2 separate regions of the Homo sapiens genome follow, and region 2 is linked to region 1. The links are contacts of gene promoters, found by promoter capture Hi-C in human tissues and cell types (Jung and others, 2019). All regions are on one chromosome and are shown on one strand. Each heading gives the region's core, a stretch centred on a gene start or on the middle of the fragment in contact. The rest is flanking DNA. Distances are from core to core; before and after follow the strand shown.

Evidence for each region. Contacts are between HindIII fragments. The study calls those that stand out against the background at their distance.
Region 2: a fragment that was not itself captured here is called in contact with the fragment with the promoter of GALT in region 1 in 1 of the 25 tissues and cell types used here (mesendoderm cells).

What each region holds. Positions count from the first base shown.
Region 1 is chr9:34,640,886-34,647,924 of GRCh38, reverse strand. It overlaps GALT (galactose-1-phosphate uridylyltransferase), which reads right to left and starts at 1,250. Exons shown (of 11, transcript NM_000155.4): 1 at 1,139-1,250; 2 at 667-836; 3 at 358-433; 4 at 220-268; 5 at 1-93. The coding sequence starts at 1,220. RefSeq lists enhancers at 646-825, 1,396-1,505, 2,719-3,013 and a silencer at 2,719-3,013. The HindIII fragment of the contact is 1,689 bases long and covers 815-2,503 here.
Region 2 is chr9:34,409,094-34,416,132 of GRCh38, reverse strand. All of the region lies in intron 1 of FAM219A (family with sequence similarity 219 member A), which reads left to right. Among named protein-coding and RNA genes, the nearest start is that of SPMIP6, 15 kb to the right of the region's middle. The HindIII fragment of the contact is 9,827 bases long and covers 1-7,039 here.

The DNA of each region.
Region 1 (7,039 bases), core at 1-2,500:
ACTGAGGCCCATGCATCAACAACAGCCCGGATCTCAGGGACCGACATGAGTGGCAGCGTTACATCCGACCAGGGGTGGAAGCACATGACCTTACTGGGTGGTGACGGGAGAAAAGATAACCGAGAGGTAGGGCTTGGCTGTGCTACGGGCAGGGCCGAACCCCAATGCTGAGTCTCCAACTCTGGTTTGAAAGTTGTAAGAGGGGAAATCCATAGTTACCAGACTCCTCGAGCAGACTTTGCTTGGAAAAGGGGATGATCACTGGGTCCTGAGGTAAAGGAGTATCACTCTCTGCAGCAGAAGTCCCTCAAGAGGTCTAGCCACCCTCCTCCCCAGCAGCAGTTGGAGCCAGGTTACCTGGACTGGGGGCATCAGGCTGCAGAGCTGGGAAGTCGTTGTCAAACAGGAAGGTGCTATCGTACTGGGGATTCACCTACCGACAAGGATAGGCTAGAAGCACTCACTGCCCCATACCACCAGTTACCTGGTGGGCTTCAAAGACTGGACAGGCTACAAGGGAGTAGGGAAGGCCCACCCTAGGGGACCAAAAAGCTTGGTGGGATATGACCCAGAAGGAGGTTCACTATCCCTGTGGGTGGAGGACAGTTCTAAGAGGGAACTACTCCCCGTGGCCCAGCCTGCAGATGCAGGGCTCTACAGGCTTACCTCTCCGTTGGCTCGGATGGCCCCAGGACACAGAGGGTTGAGAGGGTCATGGCGGGGCACTGTCTTCAGAAGCTGGGGCTCCACTTGACCCTGCCAGGGCCGCTTCATGCGGTGAGCTGACACCAGCACCCACTCATCCTGCAGCGGGTTGTAGCGGATATGCTGATGGTCTGGGGGCAGACAGTCAAGATCAGTCCTCAGAGCTCTCTAGCTCCCTCTCTCCTGGGTCTCACCCACCAGCAGGCCCAAGCTCGGGAGCGCCCTCTCGGCCCTGTCCCGCTCAGGAGCTAGAGGCCCAGGATTGGACTTTCCCAGCGCCAATTGGCCTGCTGCTCGTACAGGCCTGCAGACTGTACGCCTTGTCGGTCTGGCTCGGGATGAGCGTTCCAACCTTCGGAGGGGACGAAAGCTTCCTAAGGAAGGGGAGGGCTCGGCTCCGCGCCCCAGCGAGTCCCTGCCGCGGTGCAGTTACCGTTTGCCCGGAAGGTTGCTGCTGCGGCGTCCGCCTCTGACGCCTGCTGGCGTTGCTGAGGATCGGTTCCACTGCGCGACATGAGGCCACCGGGGGATCCGCTGGAAAATCTGCAGGGCCGTGCCTCACCTTTCACTTTCTCCGTCCACACCACCCCTCCCCGCGCCGCCCCCGATGATTGGCCAGCCGCCAGCACGTGACTGACTGACTGGGCTGCCCTGCCACCTGGGGGCGGGGCTCAGAACAGCTGTGAACCCTGGGGGCCGACATTGATGATCCTACTTCACCCAGAGCTAGAGCCACTACACTGGAAGAACCTCTGTGAAAGCTGCCTACTGCAGAATCCTTGGGCTCCAGGATGCCTACAGGACTTGCTTGCTGCAATCATTCATTTGATCTTTCATTCAGCAAATATTTACCAAGCATCTAGCATGTGCTAGGCACCTAGGCTGTGTAAAGCATTGGGATGCACATGTCAGGCATGGCCTCTGCCCTGCCTGAGCTTACATTCTAGGGCGAGTAAGGATATGACCCTGGATCAACAGCGCCTCAGTCACCTGCTCAGTGGCTGTAGCGCAGGAGAGGCAAACTTGGTGGGGTCTGTGTGGAGTACTTCACCATAACCATATCCTATCCCCAAAAGCAAAAACAGATTTGGGAAAAAGGGCTAAGTAACCATATTCTCTTTTTCTCTCACTCTTGCTCTCCTTCCTCTCTCTCTCTCTCTCTTTTTCATACACACACCAAGACAGCACAAGAAGTGGGAGGGGTAAAAGGGCTATAAAAAAAAATCTAAAAATGGCCGGGCTCGGTGGCTCACGCCTGTAATCCCAACACTTTGGGAGACCAAGGCAGGCGGATCACAAGGTCAAGAAATTGAGACCATCCTGGCCAACATGGTGAAACCCCGTCTCTAGTAAAAAAAAAAAAAAAAAAAATTAGCTGGTCTTGGTGGCGTGCACCTGTAGTCCCACCTACTCGGGAGGCTGAGGCAGGAGAATCACTTGAACCCAGGAGGCAGAGGTTGCAGTGAGCCGAGATTGTGCCCATGCACTCTAGCCTGGCGACAGAGCAGACTCCGTCACAAAAAAAAAAAAAAAAGTACAAGAAAGTCTAAAAATGTGGAGAGTACAGGACTATCAGAAGCTCCAGCCACCATCTAGGTGGGGCCTAGTGTTTCCTTTACACATCCCCTTCCCTTTTCTAAATTTTCCTTGGATGGGACCAATTGGCTAACACTAGGATAAAATTCAAATTAATTCCTCCCCTGGTACTTTTGTTTGTTTGTTTGTTTGAGAGAGAGTCTCACTCTGCCACCCAGGCTGGAGTGCAGTGGCGTGATCTTGGCTCACTGCAACCTCCACCTCCCAGGTTCAAGCGATTCTCCTGCCTCAGCCTCCAAGTAGCTGGAATTAGAGCTGTGTGCCACCACACTGGGCTAATTTATGTATTTTTAGTAGAGACGGGGTTTCACATGTTGGCCAGGCTGGTCTTGAACTCCTGACTTCAAGTGATCCTCCTGCCTCAGCCTCCCAAACAGCTGGCCCCCAGTACTTTTAAAGAGCCATCTAAATATTGTCTAAACCTCTTCCCCATTTCACATTGGAGCCCAGAGGACTCAAGGTCACCCAGAGAATTAGTGGCCAAGCTGAGATTTGAATGCAAGTTTCCAAGGCTTTTCCCAGTGCTGTGAGATGCCTCTGAGGCTTCAGTGGAATGCAGGACAGAGACCCAGTGAGTTAGAAGTTGAGCCATAGCAGGGACATCCCTTCCCCCAATCAAGACCAAGCCAAGCCAGGTGTTTTGCAATTGAGCTGCAAAAACTAGGTCATGGGTCATTTACTTGATCTCTGCCCTAGGGTCCTCAGACTGGAATAGGAAGAGGCTACCTTCAGAGGTAGGGGGCAGGGAGCTGAGGACTGAGAAACAGGGGTTTTACCTGTCCCACTGGCTGTTCATATTACCCAAAGAGGTGAGACAGGAACAGGAGATCTGCTTTTCCATTCTCTCATTTATATTTGTTTGAGTGACTAGAGCTTGTAGACAGCTCCATTTTCCCAAGAACACCAGTGCTTCAGTGCCGCCCCCTGAATCATGCTAATTAAATCCTGACCCCCATCAGGAACATCTCTTCAGGAACATCTCCATAATTCTCCTCTATGACTCCCCAAGGTCATTTTTTGGAGGAAGAGGAGAATGACTAAGATGGGCCTAACCAGCTCCCTCCCTGCCAGATCCCAGAGGTGTTGTTACAGTAAAGAGATCCCAATCCAGACCCCAAGAGAGGATTCTTGGATCTCACACAAGAAAGAATTCAAGGTGAGTCCATAGTGTGAAGTGAAAGCAAGTTTATCAGGAAAGTGAAGGAATAAAAAAATGGCCACTCCATAGACAGAGCACCCCTGAGGGCTGCTGGTTATCCATTTATATATATATATATATATATATATATATATATATATATATATATATATATATATATATAATTTTTTTTTTTTAAGACGGAGTTTCACTCTGTTGCCCAGGCTGGAGTGCAGTGGCTTGATCTCGGCTCACCGCAACCTCTGCCTCCCAGGTTCAAGTGATTCTCCTGCCTCAGCCTCCCGAGTAGCTGGAATTACAGGCACCCACCATCATGACTAGCTAATTTTTGTATTTTTTAGAGACAGAGTTTCACCATGTTGGCCAGGCTGGTCTTGAACGCCTGACCTCAGGTAATCTGTCCATCTCGGCCTTCCCAAAGTGCTGGGATTACAGACATAAGTCACCACACCTGGAAAGGCCTGGAAAAGCTTTCTGAAAGACCAGATAGGGGAGGTGTAGGCCCAGATGATCCCAGAAAGCTGTTCCTGGAATGGGGAGCAGAGACCAAATTTGGGGGCTAATCCCTGCTGCCCAGGGTTCTTAGTGAATTGTCGAGTCGGGAATGCCACAGAAGCCAGAACCAATACAAAAACATGTTCCCTCAATCCTGTATTCTCCTCTAGATAATCCTTTCTTTATCCTTAATTTCTCTGCCAAGTTTCTTTTTTTTTTTTTTTTTTTTTTTTTTTAGATGGAGTCTCGCTCTGTCGCCCAGGCTGGAGTACAGTGGTGCAATCTAGGCTCACTGCAACATCCGCCTCCTGATTCAAGTGATTCTCCTGCCTCAGCCTCCCCTGTAGCTGGGATTACAGGCGTGCACCACCACACCCAGCTAATTTTTGTATTTGTAGTAGAGACAGGGTTTCACCACGTTGGCCAGGCTGGTCCCAAATTCCTGACCTCAGGTGATCCGCCTGCCTCTGCCTCCCAAAGTATTGGGATTACAGGCGTGAGCCACCGTGCCCGGCCTGCCAAGTTTCTTAAAAACAGAGGCCATCTTTCTGGTCTCTACTCTTAGCTGCATGGTATATTGTAACACATCTTTTGCCCTATATTTGTCAGGGTAAGTAATCTTAATTGCTGTAACAAACACTCCCAAAACTCAATGGCTTAGCACTACAGTCAATTCTGGGGGTAACAGGGAGCTCTGTTCCAAGCAGTATTTAGGGATCCAGGTGCCATCCATCTAGTAGCTATGCCATGTCCTAGGGTCTCAGAATACTCCACTAGAGATCCTCTATAACTACAGTAATAGACATGGGAAGAAAGAAAATGTAAAGAACTTCAAGCTGGGCATAGTACTATGTGCCTGTAGTCCCCCAGCTCTTGGGAAGCCAGGGTGGGAGATCACTTGAGCCCAAGAGTTTGATACCAGTCTGGGAGTGACATAGCACAATCCTGTCTCTTAAAAAGAGAAAGAGAAAAAAAAAAAAAAGAATTTCAGAGGAGACTTTAGGAGCCAGCCCTAGAAATGTCATACATCATTTCTATCTATATTTCATTGGCCAGAATGCAATCACATGATCCAGAGTAGACTGTGGAATGTAATCTAGCTGTCCAAGAGCAAAAGGAAATGGATTTGTGAATGTATAGCATTGTCTCTGCCACATGCCCCTACTGAGAAGTCTAATGATCATTTCCCATCATCTCATTGAATCTCACCATTATATTTCACTGTGTTAACCCTTCATTCCATCACTCTTTTTTTAATTTTTTTAGATGGAGTTTCGCTCTCATTGCCCAAACTGGAGTGCAATGGCGTGCTCTCAGCTCACCATAACCTCCGCCTCCCAGGTTCAAGCGATTCTCCTGCCTCAGCCTCCCGAGTAGCTGGGATTACAGGTATGCGCCACCACGCCTGGCTAATTTTGTATTTTTAGAAGAGATGGGGTTTCTCCATGTTGGTCAGGCTGGATCTTGAACTGGCAACCTCAGGTGATTCCCCTACCTCGGCCTCCCAAAGTGCTGGGATTACAGGTGTGAGCCACCGTGCCTGGCCCATTCCATCACTCTTGAGAAAGAAAAGAAACTTTTTATCTGAGAAATGCCAGCCTCTTTTAATTATCAGGCCCAGAGAGGCATTAAAATGTGACAGCATGGGCCTGGCGCGGTGGCTCACGCCTGTAATCCCAGCAATTTGGGAGGCCAAGGTGGGCGAATCACGAGGTCAGGAGTTCGAGACCAGCCTGGCCAACATGGTGAAACCCTGTCTCTACTAAAAATACAAAAAATTAGTTGGGCATGGTGGCGGGCGCCTGTAATCCCAGCTACTCAGGAGGCTGAGGCAGGAGAATTGCTTGAACCTGGGAGGCAGAGGTTGCAGTGAGCCAGGATCATGCCACTGCACTCCAGCCCCGGCGACAGTGCAAGAGACTCCGTCTCAAAATAATAATAATAATAATAATAATAATTTTAAAAAGAAAAAAAAAGGCCGGGTGCAGTGGCTCACACTTGTAATCCCAGCACACTGGGAAACCAAGGCGGGCGGGATCACTTGAGGTCAGGAGTTTGAGACCAGCCTGGCCATTATGGTGAAACCCTGTCACTACTAAAAATACAAAAAGCTGAGCATAGTGGCAGGTGCCTGTAATTCCAGCTACTTGGGTGGCGGAGGCAGGAGAATCGCTTCAACCCGGGAGGCGGAGGTTGCAGTGAGCCGAGATTGCGCCACTGCACTCCAGCCTGGGCGACAGAGTATGACTCAGTCTCAAAAAAAAAAAAAAAAAAAAGTGACAGCATGTAACAGCAGTCATATCTCACCTTCCCCCACCCCCATGGAGCCAAATAATTACCCCTTGAAGCCACTTGCTATGTGGGCTCTAAATTGATACCACATAGCCATAAAATGCCATAGTCTAGACACCATAACTCATACCCTATAGTTCAACAAGGTATAGCCAATCACTAATCAATGTTGTTTCTGTAAGCCAATGAGAATTCCTGTTAAACAATTTTGTGTCAGCCCACTCCTTGTCCTCTTTTGCCTTTAAAAACTTGCTTGTGGCTGGGCATGATGGTTCATACCTGTAATTCCAGCACTTTGGGAGGCCAAGGCAGGATGATCCCTTGAGCCCAAGAGGTCAAGGCTGCAATGAGCTGTGATCGTGCCACTGAACTCCAGCCTAGGTAACAGAGCAAGATCCGGTCTCAAAAAATAAAAATAGGCCGGGCGCGGTGGCTCACGCCTATAATCCCAGCACTTTGGGAGGCCGAGGCGGGCAAATCACGAGGTCAGAGTTCAAGACCAGCCTGGCCAACATGGTGAAACCCCATCTCTACTAAAAATACAAAAAAATTAGCTGGATGTGGTGGCAGGTGCCTGTAGTCCCAGCTACTCGGGAGGCTGAGGCAGGAGAATTTCTTGAACTGGGAGGCAGAGGTTGCAGTGAGCCGAGATTGCGCCACTGCACTCCAGCCTGGGCGACAGTGGAGACACCATCTCAAAAAAAATAAAATTAAATTAAGTTAAAATAAAGTGGCCAGGTGCAGTGGCTCACACATGTAATCCCACACTTTGGGAGGCCGAGGAGTGTGGAT
Region 2 (7,039 bases), core at 1,968-4,467, 230 kb after region 1:
ACAATCATAGCTCACTCCAGCCTCAACCTCCTGGGCTCAGGCAATCCTCCCACTCAGCCTTCCGAGTAGCTGGGGCTACAGGTGTGTGCCACCACACCTGGCTAATTTTTTGTCTTTTTGGAGAGTCACCTTCTTGCTATCTTGCCTAGGCTGGGTTTCTTATAATGCCTAAGCACAGCATGAAGTCAAGCTTTGGATGGGTAAGGCAGGCTCTAGAACCAGAGACTGAAACCTAGGGAGCACTCTCACCATCTCTTGTGTTTACTTCTTTCTGAACATCAGCTGTATTCTTGTTTCCCTCCCCAATGGCTCTCTCTGTTACCTAATCCACAGTCTTGAACTTTACATCTCCATTTAAGTCCCACTTCCCGATTCTGGGGGAGACTAATTTGCTCTGCCTCATCCAGGCATTTATCCAATTGGGTGGAATCACATAGAACCAGCATAGTTCCTAGAGGCTCACTCCTATGACCATGAAGATGGGAACAGCACCAACTCCCAAAGAAGGAAGGGAAGCCCCAGAGTTTTGCTGCTGTAGTATACGCAAAAGACTCACATACCGTAGAACATTATCAAGTGTTTTTCTCAAGGTGGTGAAACTAAAGGTGATTTGTTAAAATTTTAGCATGTATTACTTTATAGTAGAAAAATCTATAAAACTTTTCATAGCTACAGTTGTTACTAGGCCTGGGGGCAGTAGCACCCTCCACCATTTTGGTTGTCCCAGTGACAGATACCATTAAAGATACTAAGGCTTGGCGGTGCTTACTTTTAGTAATGAATTCTATACTAGCAGCTGTTTAAGCAGTCAGAAAATCCTCAGCTACTCCCAAGACCAGTTGGAGCTCCCAAACTCTAGCCCGAGTGTGATAATCCTTCCCATTTCTTTTTGGTGAACTTGACCATACCCCAAAATGCAAATGCTCTGCAGAAGTGTGGTGTGTGGAAAGAAAGAGTGTTTTCCCAACTGGGGCATCATAGTGAGACCCCCTCTCTAAAAAAAAAAAAAAATTTAGCCAGGCATAGTGGCTATGTGTGCTTATAGACCTAGTTACTCAGGGGGCTAAGGCAGGAGGTCACTTGAGCCCAGGAGGTCAAGGTTACAGTGAGCTGTGACAGCACCACTGCACTCCAGCTTGGATGACAGAGTGAGACCCTGTCTCTAAAAAACTAAAAGAAAAAATGACAAAGAAGGAAACAAAGAAAAGAAAGAGAAAAGATGCTTTCCTCTTCTGCATTCTACTGCCAGCTCATAGTCCAGAGCTGGAGAGTGGACACTCAGTGTGTTGACTTTATTTGAAATGGGTCTTCTTTTAGAGAAAAACTTAGAAGATTTGGGAGATTTAGACTGATAAGAGAAGACTCCCTGGGCCAGCCAGGATTCTCTGCCTTCTCTCCTAAATGTAGGCTTCACAAACTTTCTCTTCAGACTTTCTGTTCTCCCCCATTTGTAAGACCCAATAACACTTGGAGAGATCCTCTCCGTTATGTTTCCCTGATTCTCTTCCAGATCTCCCACAAAGACCTTATCCCTATAAGAAGTCTTTGTCTTTCCCTGTAAGTGGGATCCCTAAGGACCTTTTTATTTTGTTTTATTTTATTTTATTTTATTTTAAGTTCTGGGATACATGTGCAGAACGTGCAGGTTTGTTACATAGGTATACATGTGCCATGGTGGTTTGCTGCACCTATCCCCTAAGGATCTTAATATGTCCCAAAAGGACATAAGTCCTGGCCAATTGCCTGGCTCTGCAGGCAGTGCCTGGAGAAAACTTGGAGAAAGGGAGATGGGGAACAAAAACAGGAGCTACCCAACAGTGGGATTCAGAAATGGCCAATGTGTTGAGGTGTGACTTCAGGTCATACTGCAGAGTAAGAGCTGTCATTGGCCAGATAACTCATATGTTGAGGTGTGGAGTCAGAGAAGATGGGAATGCTTTAGGCTGAATGGACAGCCCTCTGCAGGGAAATAGAGCCATCTAACTAATGCATAGATTGCTACTAACTATTCTTGGACCAGAGGCAAGATTTCTACCCAACCATGAGGACTTAGTGAAGTTAAGTTATACTTGCTGGGTCTCCCTCTAAAAGTTGATACCTAAACATGCTTATTTCTACACACTGCCATGAGATGTTTTGGAATGGAATAGCCCTGAACAGGAAGACCACAGCCCCAAGTTTCTCAGCTGACCAATGGATAAATTTGTGATAAGGAACAGAGCTGGTCTTTGATGCTCTATTTTACTGTGCCCACTTGTCAGAGAGTGGCCTGAGCCACACACCTTCCCTGACTTCCCATTTCTTATCAGCACTATCCTTCCTGGCCCTGATTTCTGCTTTCTGCTTTTCTGTCTATCCTGCCTCCTGCTATTATCCAGGGAAAATAAACAGGTACAGGCACGACTTTATTCCAGAAGTAGCCTTCCAGCATTCTCCAACTCAGAACTGCCTCCCCCAATTAGCCTTAAAACTAAAGGAAAATTCTTCTGTGTTCTGTGAAGAAGGGTTAGATAGTATTGGTATGAGCGCTTTGCTTCTTCATACGTCACTCTAAATCCATTTCCATTTTCATCTTCCTAAGAATTAGTACTTGGAGGTGAGAACAGAGGTCACCTCTTCTTGGGAAGGCTGATATTGAATCATGTCTCTGCCCTGGATTATCATGTTCAGGCCACAAGACAATGGCAAGATTGTTCAGCACCACGGAGAGCGCCTTTCATCCTCGGGACTGGATCATGGCTGGGTGACAGATGAGGATTGTAGCTGAGAGCCCAGCCAGTCTGATCTCCTTCCACTCTGGCCAACTACCAAATATTCCTCTTTTTCCCAACCCCTTAGTGTTCACCTTTTTCCTTTTACTAATGAGTTTTTTTTAGGAAGGAACTCCCCTAACTTTCCACCCCCTTTCTGCCTCCATGTTATCTGATTCCCCCACCTCCCTTCCTCCTTTCCTCTCCTCACCTCACCTTCCTTACCTCCCTTCTGTTTTGTTAAGGAGACTCCCTCCCATGGTCCAAAGTTCTGGCTCCATCTGCTCATGATTCCTCAAAGACCATGCCCCCTCAAACATCTCCTTTTCTACACAGCTTCCTTCCCCTCAGTCTAGGACAGGTCTGGTATTCCCTAGCTCTAAAGGAATTCTAGAACTCTAAAGCTCTCTCTGGCTGCCACCCATTCTCATTCCTTCCCTTCTCAGTCTTGCTCTTTTAAAGAACGGCCTGTGGTCACTCTGTCTGCTTCTTCATCTCCTATTCTCTCCTAAATCCCTTGTCATCTGGGCTCTGTTTCTACTCTTCAGCTAAAATTGTGTTCACTGAGACTACCTATGACTTTCTTATTTCTAAATTTTGTCTTTATCTTATGGACCCACCTGCTTATTTGACACTGTTGATTTCTTCCACCTTGAAACTCTACTTGAATGGTTCCTAGTTCTACTCTTATTCCTCTCTGTTCCTACCCAGTCTCCTTCCTCCATTCATTATCTAAGGTTGGATATTTCCCAGAACTTCACCCTTGGTTTTTTTTTTTTTCACTCCGCTCATTCTGAGAGACTTTATTCTTCACTGTGACTTACATCACCACCAGCCCACACCCATTTTCTGAGCTCCCACACTTCAAATCCTACCAACTAGTGGTATCATCTGGGTGTCCAAAAGACACCTCAAAATTCAACCTGTTCCCAAATGAACTCATCTGATTTTTCCTTAGCAATGCAGTTGTGCCTTCTTCTGCATTTAATAACTTGTCTTAATAATTAGTACTCTTCCCAATTACCTCCAGACAGTAAACTAGGAATGTCCAGACCCTTTGTTTTACATTTTATATCAGAAGCCTGCCAATTCTACTGTTTTTTGACATCTTCCTTTCTGTTCTTTTATCTTCTGCTGCTGCTTGGTTCAGGCCCCTATTATCTCTTGCTGGCATTGTTGCAGTAGTTTCCTAATTATCCTTACCTCCAATCTCACTCCCTTCCCAGGCGTCTTGCACATGGCTATCGGAGGGTCCTTTTCCATCTCAAATCTGACCATGTTACTCCCTGCTTAAGGCTTCATTGGCTCCCCGTCATCTTCTGAGTAAAGAAAAAAATCAAAGCCCACCTTCCAGCATGATCTGAGCCCCCTCCTGACTCCACAAACTTGATTTCCTGCAACTTTTCTCCATACCTTCTGAGCTTCAACTATAGCAAAATGCCGACTATTCCTTGAATGTACTATGCTAGTTTTATGCTTCTGAGACTTTTCACATGTTCCCTGAATGTCCTTACTCCTCACTCTTAAACTAATTGGTGACCTAATGTTTTAAGATCTTTTCAAGTGTCTCCTTTGACCACCCTCCCTTTGTCCCATTCTCTCTACTTTTATATGGCTCTTGGTTACCTTTATTAATAATTATTGGGAACTTCTTAAAGATGGGACTGTTTTCTTTTCTTTCTTTCTTTCTTTTTTTTTTTTTTTTTGAGACGGAGTCTCGCTCTGTCGCCCAGGCTGGAGTGCAGGGGTGCAATCTTGGCTCACTGCAAGCTCCGCCTCCCGGGTTCTAGCCATTCTCCTGCCTCAGCCTCCCGAGTAGCTAGGACTACAGGCGCCCACCACCGTGCCTGGCTAAGTTTTTGTATTTTTAGTAGAGATGGGGTTTCACTGTGGTCTCGATCTCCTGACCTCGTGATCCACCCGCTTTGGCCTCCCAAAGTGCTAGGATTACAGGCGTGAGCCACCGTGCCCAGCCCTTTTTTTTTTATTTTTAAAGACAGGGTCTCAATATGTCAATATGTTGCGCAGACTGGACTTGAACTCCTGAGTTTAAGTGATCCTCCTGCCTCAGCCTCATGTAGCTAGGACTACAGGTGCATGCCAGCATGCCCAGCTGGGACTCTTTTCTATTTGTATTTGTGAGCCCTATCATCATTAAATAAATGAAAGAATTGTATCATGCTGGAGTGAGGGAAGAGAGGAAACAGGGTGCCCTGTGGTCAGGTCTTTCATCACCCTAAGGAGGGCACACCTTTTCTACAGATACCTTCATATATAAGCCAGGCTCCAACCTATGTGGTGTCAGGGCTACAGCTACAGGCCAGCCACTCCCAGGGCACACTGACCATGATAGTATAGGCCTCACTGAACCTATACTAATGATATCTTTACAGTTAACATGGATATAGTGCTAAGGGTATACTATGCTAAGGACTATTCTAACTGCTTTAATACATATTAACTCCTTTCATCCTCACAAGAACCCTTGAACTAGGTATTAGTGTTAGTCCCATTTATAGATGAGGAAGCTGAAACCCAGATTGTACAGCTACTAACTGGAGGAGCTGGAATTTGAACCTAGGCACTCTGGCTCCAGAGTCTGTGCTTTTAACCATTACAATCTTTCTTTCAGTCTGTGTGGCAAGGAGGATGGGATTGTGTAGATTGTCTTCCTTTAGTCAGAGCATCCCCTTGGCACTGAGAGTGAGGTCAGCCCATCCAAGCCATATGTCTGTTGCCCAGTGGAGGAGGAGTATAATTTGAATGTTGGGGAGGCAATCACATGTCTACTGGGTACTTATGAGAATCAGATAAGCTCGTGGATCTGAAGACATACATTAGGAACTACAAGACCCTCTACAAGTTTTATTTTTTGCCACCTAGAGTCCTACCAGAGTAGCCCATAAAAGTCTGCGGGTCATTCAGGAAAGCAGACTCTTCCATCTACTTATCCAGATCCTCCTTCTTAAGACTCCAGGCATGAGCCTTGAAGGTTCCACACTTTGGTTTTTTTCATTTGTTTCCCTTTTTTACCACCCAATTTTATCCTGCTTATTTGGGATCTCTTGGGTCCCAGCCTACCATTGTATTGACTGCACTACCCACAGCTCCAACAAGTGAGGCCAGCCAGCTAAAGACAGTTCATGAGTTGGTACAGCCCTGGGGCAGGGGGACAAGGGAAGAGGTTAATATGCAGACTGATGCTTGGGCCTGCAGGAATGGAGCAGCCTCCCAGAGGGCCTGTCTTTAGCTCCAAGCCCAAATCATGTTCTCTTCCCTATGTCCCTCCCTGCATGCTTTGAAAGGTTATTGACTCCATCACTGACTTTGGGTAAGACACTTCCCCTCTCGGCCCAGGTTTCCTCATTTTTAAAAAGAATGGGTGATGATATTTGTTGAAGCTGTTGATAGGTACCTATGATCTCACTATACTATTTTCTCTACTTGTTATAATTTCCACAATAAAACATTTTTAAACATTTAAAATCAAAAGATTTCAACCTTTTTTAAAAAATAGAACCTTTTCTCCAACCAAAAAGTTGCAACAGGCTGATATATAAATGAAATAAAGGTGAATCTACTCTTATTAAAGGGAAACCAGACCCACATCCTATAGCTTCCCCTTCACAGTCACTCAGGGAACACAGTTTAATGAAAATCAGTGGACCAAACTATTATAATTCTAAGGATTCTTCTGATGCTTTTGCCTTCCTCTAGCTATATTGGCTTTGCACTAGCCATTAGCCTATATATCCTGTCCCAGAAACAGTGAGGCTGGGCTATTAATCATCTCTGTAGTCTTCAGAGAATTTATTTGAAGGGTTGCAGAAACATGGGCTGCTGTTAGAGATGCATTTCAATGTCTGTCTCTGCTGAGTGTTTATTAATAATCTTGTTAATCTCCACTCTAGTTCCCGGATCTAGCTAACGCCTTCAGATGTCCTTGGGGGGCACTTTAAATTCTCCCTGATTTCTTGGAGCCAGGCACTTCCTTCTGCCTGGAGTCTTTTCTGATACTTACATTCATGAATATTTTACATTTAATCTCCCTGATTACATTGCCATGCAATGGTTGTGGTGCATTGGCTGCATTTCTAAGGGAAGACATAGAGGAAGCTCATAGTAAAGGCTTATGTTTGCAGGCACAGTGCCAGAGATCTTTGTGCTTGCCACTAAGGTGGCCTTCTGTCATGGATAGTGATGGAGGAGATGCTGAATGGTGGGCTTTGCATGGGACCCCTCAGCCTAGGGCTCTGCCCCCTGGTCAGGCCCTCCTGAATTGTGGTCCA